Regions from separate parts of the Homo sapiens genome. Here region 1 is linked to region 2. Evidence: promoter capture Hi-C in human tissues and cell types (Jung and others, 2019). All regions are on one chromosome and are shown on one strand. The core of a region is centred on a gene start or on the middle of the fragment in contact, and the rest is flanking DNA. Distances in the headings are between cores, read along the strand shown. Region 1 has its middle 63 kb from the start of PNOC. Region 2 holds the start of PNOC (prepronociceptin).

The links. Contacts are between HindIII fragments. The study calls those that stand out against the background at their distance.
Region 1: a fragment that was not itself captured here is called in contact with the fragment with the promoter of PNOC in region 2 in 1 of the 25 tissues and cell types used here (pancreas).

What each region holds. Positions count from the first base shown.
Region 1 is chr8:28,250,597-28,257,375 of GRCh38, forward strand. No RefSeq gene overlaps it. Among named protein-coding and RNA genes, the nearest start is that of PNOC, 63 kb to the right of the region's middle. The HindIII fragment of the contact is 7,520 bases long and covers 97-6,779 here.
Region 2 is chr8:28,315,303-28,322,220 of GRCh38, forward strand. PNOC (prepronociceptin) reads left to right here and starts at 1,966. Exons shown (of 4, transcript NM_006228.5): 1 at 1,966-2,014. RefSeq lists enhancers at 2,959-3,471, 3,472-3,983. The HindIII fragment of the contact is 3,220 bases long and covers 572-3,791 here.

The sequences.
Region 1 (6,779 bases), core at 2,607-5,106, 63 kb before region 2:
GGAAGTTTCCATGCCATTGGGTGTGCTTCTGCCAGCTGATACCCTTGGACTCTCAAGTGAGAGACACCACAGTTGACCATCTTACGTTGGTAGCATCTTCCTGGGTTAGTCCCACCTCGAAACCTGTATATGCATAAAAGACAATCTACTATATGTACCATGTATTATGTAATATATACATAGTATATATAATACAGGAATATGGTAACATAGTAATATATATTATCTATTTATCCATTGTAGATAATACATACATATTGTGTATCATCTATATTATTAATACATATCACATATGTTTATACACATATAATATAGAGCAGTGGTCCCCAAGCTTTTTGGCACTAGTGACCAGTTTCATGGAAGACAATTTTTCTCGTCTTTTCTTTTCTTTTTGAGATGGAGTTTTGCTCCTGTTGCCAAGGCTGGAATGCAGTGGCACAATCTCGGCTCACTGCAACCTCTGCCTCCCGAGTTCAAGTGATTTTCCTGCCTCAGCCTCCTGAGTAGCTGAGATTACAGGCACCCACCACCATGCCTGGCTAATGTTTTGCACTTTTAGTAGAGGCAGGGTTTCACCATGTTGGCCAGGCTGGTCTCGAGCTCCTGACCTCAGGTGATCCGCCTGCTCCATCTCCCAAAGTGCTGGGATTACAGGCGTGAGCCACCATGCCCGGCAGAAAGACGATTTTTCTATGGACAGGGGAGTGTGATGGTTTCCAGATGATTCAAGCACATTACATTTATTATGCATTTTATTTCTATTCTTATTACATTGTGATATATAATGAAATAATTATACAACTCACCATAATATAGAATCAGTGGGAGCCCTGAGCTTGTTTTTCTGCAGCTAGACGGTCCCATCTGGGAGTGATGAGAGACAGTGACAGATCATCAGGCATTAGTTAGATTCTCAGAAGGAGTATGCAAGCTAGATCCCTTGCATGCACAGTTCACAATAGGGTTTGTGCTTATTGAGAATCTAACGCCACCGCTGATCTGACAGGAGGCAGAGCTTGGGCAATAATGCAAGCGATGGGGAGTGGCTGTAAATACTGATGAAGCTTTGCTCACACACTTGCTGCTCACCTTTTGCTGTGTGGCCTGGTAACTAACAGGCCACAGACCAATACCCATCTGTGGCCCAGGGCTGGGGACCCCTAATACGGAGTACATAATATGTAGCAATGTCCTAGTTGTTAAGTTGGGTGGTAGACTCACAAGTGTTTGTTTTATTATGTGTCATAGCCAATATGTAGTTAAAAATATCATTTCGTATTATCTAATATTCCATCTGATAGTTTCAATAGTAACAGTGGCCATTTCAAGGTAGTAAGATTTAGGCATGATTCCCTTCTCCCATATAAGCTTCTTAATTTTCTAAGTTCTTTTCAAACAATAACAGATTGTTTCTAGAATCAGAAAACATAAACTTTGTAAAATATATGAGAAAAATGTATACTGGCAAATTACAAATGGAAACGTGAAGATCTTTCCCATTTAAGGAGAAGAAGAGTCATGGATGATTTTCTGCTGATATGTTTAGAGACCTGGAGATCCTCTGTAGTTTTGGCTTTCAAATCTCTCCTCCTACTGTGTTTCTTGTACTTGGAGCACTTTTCTCATTTCCAGTCTCAGACTGGAAAGAAGTTAGTGTTGAACCACGCCCCAGTGGATACCTAAATTCTCTGGGAAATTGAATTTTTCCCTAGATAGAGAGAGGTGGTCCACGGAGATTGATAATGCAAGGCCCCAACCCTGTGCCCTGTCCCATCCACAGGGGACTCAGGCTGGCTGTGGCACAGGCATGGAGCAGAGAGAGGCTGGCTGTCTTAGGGCAGGGAGACTTTCCCAGAAAGGGCAAGGCCAGGGACCAAAAAGAACCCCGGGAATGTCACTGGGATGTTTGGTGGATTAGAAATCATGGCCACAACATTCTCAAGCATCTCCTGCCAAGAGGAGGTATCTAGTTCTCTGCCTCTTTAATCTGGGCGGGTCTTGATACTCGCTGTGGTCTCCTGAATGTGGTACAATCAGCATTGTGTGTGTTCCAGAACTAAGAGGCCTGCAGCTTCCATTTCCTCTTCCTTTTTTACCCAACTACCACGTAAAGAGGTCCAGGCTCTCCTGCTGGAGGGCGGAGCCACATGGAGAGTGAGACCTGAAGGATGAGAGACCATGGGGAGGAAGATGCCACAGGAAAGAGACCCATGACACCGCAGCAGACAGCCAGCACCAAGACTCCATCTATGTGAGGGAGGTCATATTAGGTCCTCCAGCCAGCTGATCCTGCTGATAACACTTGGAGCAGAGAGCTGAACCCACTGAGCCCTGCCCAAATGCCTGACCCATAGAGTCATAAGCCATCAAATAGTTCTGATTAGCTAGAGTTCCGGGTGCTTTGGACCCAGCAACAGATAACTGATACAGGGTGATAGAACAAGGAAATAAAAATACATCTCAATTAATTGAAAAGTTTGCAGGACACACTATTAAAAATTAGACAGGAAGTCAGACTACAATTGGGCCATCTGACTCTGCAACTCATCCAAGAAAAAGCAAAATCCGGCCGGGCGTGGTGGCTCACGCCTGTAATCCCAGCACTTTGGGAGGCCAAGGCAGGCAGATCACGAGGTCAAGAGATCGAGACCATCCTGGCCAACATGAAACCCCGTCTCTACTAAAAATACAAAAAAATTAGTTGGGCATGGTGGCGGGCACCTGTAATCCCAGCTACTCAGGAGGCTGAGGCAGAATTGCTTGAACCCAGGAGGCAGAGGTTGCAGTGAACCGAGATCACACCACTGCACTCCAGCCTGGTGACAGTGTGAGACTCCATCTCAAAAAAAAAAAAAAAAAGCAAAATCCAACAGCAAATTCTTGAAGGAATTTCTGGAAATTCTTGAAGGAAGAAAGAGCGGCTTATGAATTTTACAAGTTGTGTCACACAAAAGGCTTTCTAGAATCCTCTTTGGACTCTCTCTTTATCAATTACTTTTCAGTAACAGCAACTTCCGAAAGTCAGTCTCTCCCCTTCTCCGTCTTCACACATATGCACACATGCACGAGCACGCAGGCACACACATGTGCACATGTACACACATTGTATTAGGCTGTTCTTGCATTGCTATACAGAAATACCGGAGCCTGGGTAATTTATAAAGAAAAGAGGTTAAATTGGCTCGTGGTTCTGCAGGTTGTACAGCAAGCATGGTACAGGCATCTGCTTAGCTTTTGGGGAGGCCTCAGAGAGCTTTTACTCATGGTGGAAGGTGAAACGGGAGCAGGCACTTCACATGACCGGACCAAGAGCAAGAGGTTGGGCAGGGGGCATGCCACACACTTTTAAACAACCAGATCTCATGACAACTCACTATCACAAAGGCGGCACCAAGGAGATAGTGCTAAGACATTCCTGAGAAATCCACCCCCATGATCCAATCACCTCCCACCAGGCCCCACCTCCAACACTGGAGATTACATTTCAACATGAGATTTGCGGGAACCATATCCAAACCATATCACGCGTATACAAATGCACTTGCACACACACACACAGACATGCATATACACATGTTCACACATATACAAATGCACACATACACACATGCATGCACGTACACTCACATACATGCATCCACATGCATGCACGTACACTCATGTACATGCATCCACACGCACGCGTACACTCATGTACATGCATCCACACACATACATGCATCCACACGTACACATGTGCCTATGCACATAAACATGCATGCATGCACACACACGATTCCCTACCTCCCTGCCACGTTGCTCTACCAGCACTTCCTCTTCCATCACCGGCTATCATCTCTGTCATCTGTGTCGCAGTGAGTCTCCTTACTTTGTAAAGCCCCCTCTTCTTCTCCAAGTCCTCTTCTTTTGTGGAGAGCAGCTACTTGGAATTCTGATGAATCAATTCTCCATTTATTACATACTCAAGCCACAATAGCCACCCTTGCCAAGTTCCATGTATTTTACCTCTTCATTGTTTTTCCCTGCAGATTCTACGGTCCAACACCAAGGAGCCCTTTCCGTTCCAGCTCAAATCCCACAATCTCAAAACATTTTTTTCATGCTTCTCACTCCCACTCTCCATATCAACAGCCCATGGAATGAGCTTCTGTCTTTGCTAACCTTGGGGTTATCCTCCTATCTTGTTCTACACAGGTCTGCTTCTCTTGCTAGTTTATAACCTGCTTGCATCAAGTGCTGTGTCTTATTAATCTTTGTAACCACCACAGGCTCTAGCTCAGCACCACACACGTGGCAGGCATTCAATGATATTTGTCAAGTTGAGTGTAATTTAAATGAGGTCATTCATTCAGGTCTGTGCCAGGAAAAAAAAAAAAAGTCACCTTTTCTGAGATAAGCTGGGGTCACTTGCATACCAAGTCAGTCCAAACTGAAAGTAACATCAAATGACAAATAATCGTCTATTTCAAAACTAGAAAAGTAATGGATTTTGTTTGGAAAATAAGCATAGGAAGGACGTTTTTCCTTCTACTCTTCCGTGTTTTCCTGTATTTTGTAAATAAATGTGTGCTCATTTTACAATAAAAATAAATTTTCACATGAGTAACTCAGAAAACAGAAATCATATTATCATTTATGACATTATGTCCACTGGATACTTTCTTTCAAAGTGCTATGAAGGCAAATATACTTGTTTCTTCAGCCTGAAAGAATCATTTACCAGTTTCCCGATGCTATCAGCTAAGTATTCCACCAAAGAGGGAAAAATGACGCTTGGTCCAGCTCTGTGATAGATGGAAGTTAAACATCTGAAAGTTCATCAACCCACACGCCCAGCTGGCCAGCTTCCTTGTCTCCAGCTGATCCTTGGAATTTAATCTCAGTCCCAAATTTATAGATGAAATTCTCCCATCACATCCCATCTAGTTGAATTGTTAAAATGACTCTAATTTTGTTCTCTTTGACAGAGTCTTGCTCTGTCGCCCAGGCTGGAGTGCAGTGACACAATCATAGCTCATTGCAGCCTCGAACGCCTGGGCTCAAGCAATCTTCCTGCCTCAGCTCCTCAAGTAGCTGGGACCACAGGTGTGTGCCACCACACCCTGCTTTTTTTTTTTTTTTTTTTTTTTTTTGTATTTTTTGTATAGATGGAGTCTCGCCATGCTGCCCAGGCTGGTCTCAAACTCCTGGGCTCAAGCGATCCAGCTAAAATTGCTCTAATTTCATTATTTGAAATCTTTTCAAAGTTAAACTTCCAGAAACACCTCTATTCTTATTTTGGGAGACTATGTCTTGACCTTTCCTTAAGAGAGTTTAAGGTTGTCTTTAAGTTAAAATAAGATCATAACTCCTCAACCGAACATACAAATCATTCCCTTGGTCTAGTCTGCACTTTCAGCTTCTTCTCTGGGTGTTCCCTGGAAACCTGTTTCTCAGAGCTGTCGGTAGAGCACCTGCATCAGAATCACCTGAGGGCCGGGCGCAGTCGCTCACACCTGTAATCCCAGCACTTTGGGAGGCCAAGACAGGAAGACTTCTTGAGCCCAGGAGTTCATAAGCCAGCCTGGGCAACATGGCAAAACCCCATCTCTACCAAAAATACAAAAATTCGCCAGGCATGATGGTGTGAGCCTGTAGTCCCAGCTACCCAGGGGGCTAAGGCGGGAGGATCAACTGATCCCAGAAGGTCGAGGCTTCAGTGAGTCGTGTTCATGCCACTGCACTCCAGCCTGGGCAACAGAATGAGGGCCTGCCTCAGAAAAAAAAGGGGTTTGGGAGAAAGAGGAGAGGGGAGAGGGGAGAGGGGAGAGAGGAGGGAAAAGGAAGAAAGGAAGGAGGGAAGGAAGGAAGGAAGGGAAGAAGGGACGGGAGAAAGAGAAAGGAAATCACCCTGTGTACTGATTTAAGTGTAGACTCCCGAACCCACACACAGATCCAGACAGAATTGAAAACACATTCACCAGGTGATGTTCAGGTTCACAAAAGCCTGAGCGCCACAGCTTCAGAGCCCCTAGAGGCTCACCATTCCTCAACGGAGCACGTCATTCCCCACCCTCTGCCTAGAACAACCCCTCTTCCTTCTCTGCTGATCCCTGCTTGTTTTTCTAGACCTAGCTTGACTGTCATCTGCCCCATGAGGCATTGCCAGCCCTCGCAGGAAGAGTAAATGATTTCCTCAACTCCCCACACTTATAACTTGATATATATACAACTATAATAACTTGTATACCTGTCTGATCTCTGTTGAACAGGACCTTGTGCTTTTTTAATGAAAAGTAGATTTTTAATTTCTTAAGGTGATCTGGAGGTCAGAAGTGATAGGAATAGGAAGTTCAAGCCCAGTGTCTCTGGCCTGTGGGACAGCACCAGCCACACCCTTCTCCAAAGCCCTGAATTTGAATATAAGGTCAGACCATGGGTACTAGGGAGCCATTGAGTGTTCTTGAGCAGGGCATGGCTATGTGAGAGCAGGGTGGTGGGTGGCTGGAGGAAGACAGTGTGTCCTGGGGCAGTTGCCCCTCTTCCTCTCTCGGGTTTAGAGTGGGGTTTCTCTCCCTTGTGCTAACAACATCTGGGGCTGGATTATTCTCTGTGGTGGGGGCCATTCCAGGCATTGTAGGATATTAAACAGCATTCCTGGCTGCCACCCACTTGACGCCAGTAGCACCTCCCGGTTTTGAACACCAAAAATATCTTGAGACATTACCAAGGATCACCCTCTGGTGAGAGGCACTGTTTTGGAGTGGGAGGTGTGAGATCAAACAGAGAGAAGGCCAAAT
Region 2 (6,918 bases), core at 716-3,215:
TGGCATGAACCTGGGAGGCAGAGCTTGCAGTGAGCTGAGTTGGCGCCACTGCACTCCAGCCTGGGCGACAGAGCAAGACTCCGTCTAAAAAAAAAAAAAAAAAAGCTTTCCTGGAAACCCCACCCAAGGACCTGCAGCTTAATGCTCATTGGCAACCCTTGGTCAATGGGAAATGTAGTCTTTTAGCTAAGTGCATTGATGCCTGGAATAAAATCAAGGGTACCGTTTAGTAAGGAAGAACAGGGAAATGGGGATTGGGTAGGCAGCCTGCAATATCTGCCACATCATGTATGAAATCAGGTTCCAGGCCTGAGACACTGAAGTACATCAGGATGCAAAAGTGACCCCGTGTCAGTCAGTGAACATGCTGGTTTCCCAAAGAGTCCAAAATGGTAGCTGCGACCTGCAGTGTAAGGTTTGGGCAACAGAGATCTAAGTGAAGAATCATGAGTATGCTGGTCTCCTGAGCCCTTTTGCTGTGAACACAGACGGAAGGGAAATTTTATTCTCAGAACCTGTTGCTCTTAACCTGAGCAGATGTTTGCTGTCTTTTTCCTATTTTCTTTTTATGGAGATGTAATTCCCATAACATAAAATGCACCATTTTAAAGCATACAATTTGGTGGGTTTTAGTATTCTTGCTATGTTGTGCAACCATCACCTCAGTCTAAATCCAGAACATTTCCATTACCCCAAAAAGAAACCCTATACCATTTGCAGTCAGGGCAGATGCTTCCCTCAATCCTTCTCCACCCAGTCCTGGGTAGACCAGAGAGCTGGACTTAACCACATGAATGAGTGCTTGAGCTCCTTGGATGACATAGGTTCAAACCCTGGGATTCTGGAATATTTTAGACCCTCTTAGGAAAACCAAGGACAGGGTCATGGTGAAATTCACCTAAGGTAAGGAAACGTGGGGTCCACAAGGATGCTAAACCCTCAAGCCTGTGCCTTCAGCCTGTGAGCTCCTTTCCTGCAGCCCACAACCCCCGGCGGCTGTAGAAGACAAAGAGGCTCTGCAGTAAGGGACAGGGAAGCTTCCAGAGCTTCTGAGCCTCCAGGGCCCTCGGTAGTGATGCCCTAAGTTGCAGAAGCTTTAAAAGCTCTCTGTTGTGACACCAGACACTGATATGGGATTTCTACATCCAGGTGGTACTAATCAGTGTGAAAAGCGGGCTGAGAGGAGAGGGAGGATGCAGCACATTCATTAAGGGCCTCGTGTGTTGTAGATTCAAACAGAATCTCCTTTTTCTACTCACAACCATCCTGGGCAGTATTAGACTCATTTTCCGGAAGGAGGACTTGAGGTTCACAAAGAGATGTGCCTTGCTCTGACTGTACAGCCGAATTTCAGACACTTCCATCTGAGCCTCGAGTCTCAGCATTCTCCATTGCACCATGCTGTGGGCACCTGTGGAAATGCCTCCTGACCTGGCCCAGGGCAGGTGCAGCCACCTCTTGAGTGGCCTAGTTAGGGGCAATGACATTAGGTCAGGGCTTGGCTTAGCTCAGCCCTGGGCTCCTCCGAGTCGGTAGGAGCTTGGCATGAGCTCCCCTCCCTTCTGCCTGCCTCCTATTCTTCACTCCTCAGGCAAAAAGGTTGCTCAAGGAGACTCCAGGATTTGGGGTCTGCCTCGTCACTGTCACCAGGAGGCTTTTTTTCTGACTTGCCAGAGCTCCCCATCAGTCCTCACAGAGCCTCTGGAAGCACAGGGAAGGCAGCTGTGGGATCCTGGCTGAACAGAGTCCAGGTGAAGCAGGCTTGAGAATGGATTGATGGGGAGGTGGGGATGTCACAGGTCTGATGGCAGAGCCGGGGGAAGGGAACAGCCAGGAAGGCTTGCAGGTTCTGCTGTTTGGTTGCTGAAGGGGGTCAGTGTGTGTATGTGTCATGGAGGTGGGCAGGGAAGGGGAGGGCTGTGCGTGGGGGAGAGGATATATATGCTGGTGTGGCTGAGAAAGCGGAACCGAGCCTCGCATCCATCGGAGGGAGCCGGGGACTGACAGCTCTCAGGTAGGCAACTGCACGGGGCCCCCAGCCCGACCGCGACTAACTGGACTAACTGCGTGGAGCTCCGGGAGGGCAGGGCCACCAGGGGCTGGCTCCTCGGCCTCTCTCCTTTGTCCAGTGTGGATGCTGCTGGCCTCTTGCGAGATGGTTTCTTCATTCATCTCCTTTGTAGCGCTTGGATGGTGGGGAACGGGGGAGGGCTGAGTCTCTTTTTTAACCTCAGACAGACGCAGAAGCAGAAAGAGGGGAACTTGGAAATGAGGAAAAGTTTTGCTTCCCCAGCTGTGGCCCCTACGTGGTTGTTGCTCTGTGTCGAGAGGAGGCTGCTGGAGGAGTGAGGCCAGAGGAGGGGCAGGCACTTGGGAGGGGGTTTGCCTTCCACGGGGCGGCCCCCAGGAAGACCCTGGCCCCCTCATGAGGGTTTCCTCTCAGTGGCTTCCTTTCCTCTCAGATGCGGTGCGCAGGCTGCTTCTCCGCCTATCACTGAACTTGATGCCATCCAGATGGGAGTTTTTAATCCGGAGGGAGCCCTTCTCCCTTCTGCCCCCAGCAGAAATTGCTACAAATAATGGGGAAGCGCCAGATCTGGGGAGTGTGCTTCACCTGTATACACACACTGCTGAGCGCCACGGCGTGTGAATTCCAGAGAGCATTTCTACGGGCGTGACCTTGGTCTCCCAGAACCCGATTCATTTAGAGGGCTCTTCTCTTGCTTGGCATCCCTCTCCCCCTGCCCATCTCCCCCACCTAAAGGTCTTTGCCCAGGTCATGCAGAATACTCCGTTCATAGTCACCGCATCCCAACTCTCGAGGCTCTCTCAGCCACCTTCTTTCTTCCTCCTCTCTTTGTGCATCTCTCTCCCTCGAGTCTTGCTTCCCCGGCTTCACTACCCAGCCCCTCCTCCCCGAATCTCGCTCTGAACATGGGCAAGTTCTGGGGGAATTTCAAGTAAGGCAGGATGATTCGGGAAATGGACTATTTAAAGCAAGCTGCTTTGGACTTGAATACCCCCATCCTGCGCTTAAACATCTGTGTTTAGCTTCCTCAAGCAGCCCATAATTGCCCCAATTATAACCAATAACATTGTTCGGCAGACTAACAAAAGATGAGCTTTGCACGGCATTCGCCAGCAAGCCCAAACCAGAGTTTTCAACATAGATGGGAAAAGTAACTGCCTGGCTTCTTATCAAAACCTCCCAAAGCAAATACTGCTCTTTTTCGCTGCTTGTGGGTGGCTACTGCATGCAGCCTCTTTTTTTCTCATTTGTAAAGTGTGGCAGGGAAATATTCTACAAGCTTACACTGAGGCTATGTTACCTTTAACAAAAAGGATTCGTGCTCCTTTGGGCTTGCTGAGTCTTCTGCAGAGGAGGGTCCCTGGAAAACCCATCCCCAACCATCACCACCTCTGTAAAAGCATGTGCCGCCTGGTGCTGCCTGGCGAGGGCGCTGTGGTACAGCCTCGGGTCATTTTGAGGGCGCAGTTTTGTTGCGCACAGGGCAGCAGCCCCTGCTTTATCAGCTGAAGGCTGAGAGTACTTACGGATTTGTAAAATGCAGGCGAGTTTGCATTGTCAGTGAAGGGAGTGATTGCAGGATTAGGCTCAAACCTGTGCTCCCTGGAGCCTATGACAAGAGCTGTCACTAAGCTATCCTGTATTCAATCAATCAGGTAGTTACCGTCTACACTCCACCAGGCAGGGAGGCTTGCAGGGGCTCTAGTAGATTCAGCAGAGGTGATAATAACAGCACTTTACATTTGTACAACGATTTAGGCGCTTTCACACCTATTATCCCAGCAACAGCCCTGTGAGGTGGTGCCATTATCTCGGTGTTGCAGTTGGAGAAACTGAAACTGAGAGATTAAATGATTTATTCAGTACATGGCAGGGTCAGGACTGAGCCAAGGCATTGTGGCTCCAGTTCATCTCCCCGTTACGGTCAGGGGTGCTTATGAACTCATAGTGGGGTCGGGGGTAGAGGAGAGACGTAACACAAACATGAGAAACAATTAGAGGACCATGCAAGGCAGGGTGTAATTCAGTCCTAAATCACATAATCCAGAGAGCAAGTGCTAGAAGAATTCGGGAGAAGGAGCATTTCCTCCAGGCATTCCTGGGATCCTACCAAGTGAGAAGGCAGGTGGAATTTGGATGGGTGAAGGGCTTTGAAGAGGGAGGCAGCAGCCAGGTCAAACACATAAAATGAGGGCAAAGGAATTAACATTTCTTGAAACCCACTCTGTGCCAGGCAGTGAGCTAAGCTTGTCTACGTGCTTATTTCATGCTAATACACACATGCACATATGCACACTGGTAGGAATGGGAAGTTTCAGGTGAGCGTTCTCTACTTGCACTGACACGGTTCAGTGATCCCTCATTTCTCCATCCAGCTCCACAGCTCCCAAAGCCCACGAAGGAAGCTTTGAAATATCTTGCATTCCGAGTCTGGGTGGAGCTACTCCTCAGATATCTTAGGAAAGGGACGGGCCCTTCTCAGAAAACGGGAGCCGTCCTGACAATGAGTGGCTGGCAGTGGCTTGAATTGCTGGGCAGTCATGAAGCAAACTGGATTTTCTAAACGCCTTTATTTAAATCCCACAGTCGAACATAAAGTTTTCCATCTAATCACAAACTAGTCATGAGATTTGGAGCACATCGATTTCAGGGGCAAGCCAGTTTTCTGGGCATCTCCCTGGATAGGCTACAATTAGTTTCAGTCTCAATTTTCCACGATCCTGTGGGGTTTTTTTTGTTTGTTTCTTTCTTTCTTTCTTTCTTTTTTTTTTTTTTTTTTTTTTTTTTTTTCAAAATACTGGCAGCTGCTTCAACATTGCAGAAGCACAAAATCATCAGCCCGGGGGCCCAGCCTGGCAGGTGGAGTAGATAGCATGCCTCACCATGCACCCCAGCTCTGCCATCCCACAGTGGCTCAGATCCAACCTCCCCTCTTTCCACACTGGCCTGCAATCTTCCCCCCACCCTCCTTCCCCATTCATCCTTTCATTCATTCGGCCAAGGAACGTGTGTGGGGTTCCTGATAGGAGCCACACAGAGCAAGTGCCAGGAGCACAGGGTGGCCAGAGCGCTGGCTTCCTCCAAACTCACAATGGGCTTCAGGAGACTGAGACTTTTGTTTTTATCTTACCTTTCTTAATTTGCATTTTAGTGGATTTTATAATGTATGTAACTTATAAATAAATTAGGAATGTGTACTCAAAATCGACTGCTAGGGGTACAAAGTTAAAGAAGTTTGGCCGGGCGCAGTGGCTCATGCCTGTAATCCCAGCACTTTGGGAGGCCGAGGTGGGCAGATCACAAGGTCAGGAGATCAAGACCATCCCGGCTAACACGGTGAAACCCCGTCTCTACTAAAAATACAAAAAAATTCTCTGGGCGTGGCGGTGGGCGCCTGTAGTCCCAGCTACTCGGGAGGCTGAGGCAGGAGAATGGCGTGAACTCGGGAGGTGGAGGTTGCGGTGAGCCGAGATCACACCACTGCACTCCTGCCTGGGTGACAGAGCGAGACTCCATCTCAAAAAAAAAAAAAAAAAAGAAGAAGAAGTTTGAAGATTGTTGTCCTAGATTCATTGCTGTTTCTCTGTGTTTTCCAATATTTTAGAAAAGAACACCGAATGATTTTATTACATAAAAGTAAATAAAAGCTTTTCTTTCTTTCTTTTTGAGTTGGAGGTCTTGCTATATTGCCCAGGCAGGTCTTTTGTTGTTGTTGTTGTTGTTTACAGACAGGGTCTCACTCTGTCACCCACACTGGAGTGCAGTGGCACAATCATAGCTCACTGCAGACTCAACCTCCTGGGCCCAAGCTATCCTCCTGCCTCAACCTTCTGAATAGCTAAGACTGCAGATGTGCACCACCACACCTAGCTAAATTTTTTTTTTTTTTTTTTTTTGTAGAGATAGGTGTCTTACTATGTTCCCCAAGCTGGTCTCAAACTCCTGGGCTCAAGCGTCCTAAGTTGCTGGGATTGCAGTTGCATGCCAATACACCCAGCTAAAAGTAAATAAAAGCTTTCCAAAATCTATTTAAATTATGTTGCCAGTATATGTGGGAGTGTGGCCCAGAACCAGGAAGATGGGAGTTGAGAGCTACCTTCCCACCTGCAGTAGCCCTGAACGTGTGTCTTTTGCCCCCTCCACACTCTTTCTATGGCTTTCCTCATGCTGCCCGGAAGCTACTTCCCCATAAAGCCTTCATCTCCTTTTCCTCTTCCCTTCTTCCTTCCATCCTTACTTCCAGGAAAGGACAAATATCTGGCCATTCATAAAATCAGAGAATATCAACCATCTCATCTAACTGCCTCTTCTTATAGAGGGAAAAGCTGAGGCCCAGAGAGAAAAGGTCTTGCTTAAAATCCCACAGGTAACGACAGAGCCAGACTAGAAGCCAGGACTCTTGTTTCTGAGCACAGCTCTCACGCGTTCATTTCTCTCCAGCCTGGGGAATGCTTGACCTGTGCTGGGCTGGGCAATTGTTCTTTCCTCCACCTCCTCTATGCCGTCCCCCTCTTTCCAGGTGGAAATTTAGATGAGAGGAGAGACACTTGAAGTGTAATTGTATCAGCCAGAAGAGGAAAAGAAACTAAAGCAGCCTCTCTCCATAATAGCTGGTAAACAAGCATAAGCTCCATTGTAGGAGTCTTATCTGCAATGGGTCTAAGAAATGGGGCATCGGGAAGACCCACCTATCTTCTGATGGACATGCAGCTGGTGCATAATGAAGGATCCCTGTGTGGACTGGAGAGAAGCCACCATAAAGAGGTTGTCATCAGCCCCGGCACAGTGGCTCATGCCTGTAATCCCAGCACCTTAGGGAGGCTGAGGCGGGAGGATCATTCGAGGTCAGGAGTTTGAGACCAGACTGACCAACGTGGTGAAACCCCGTC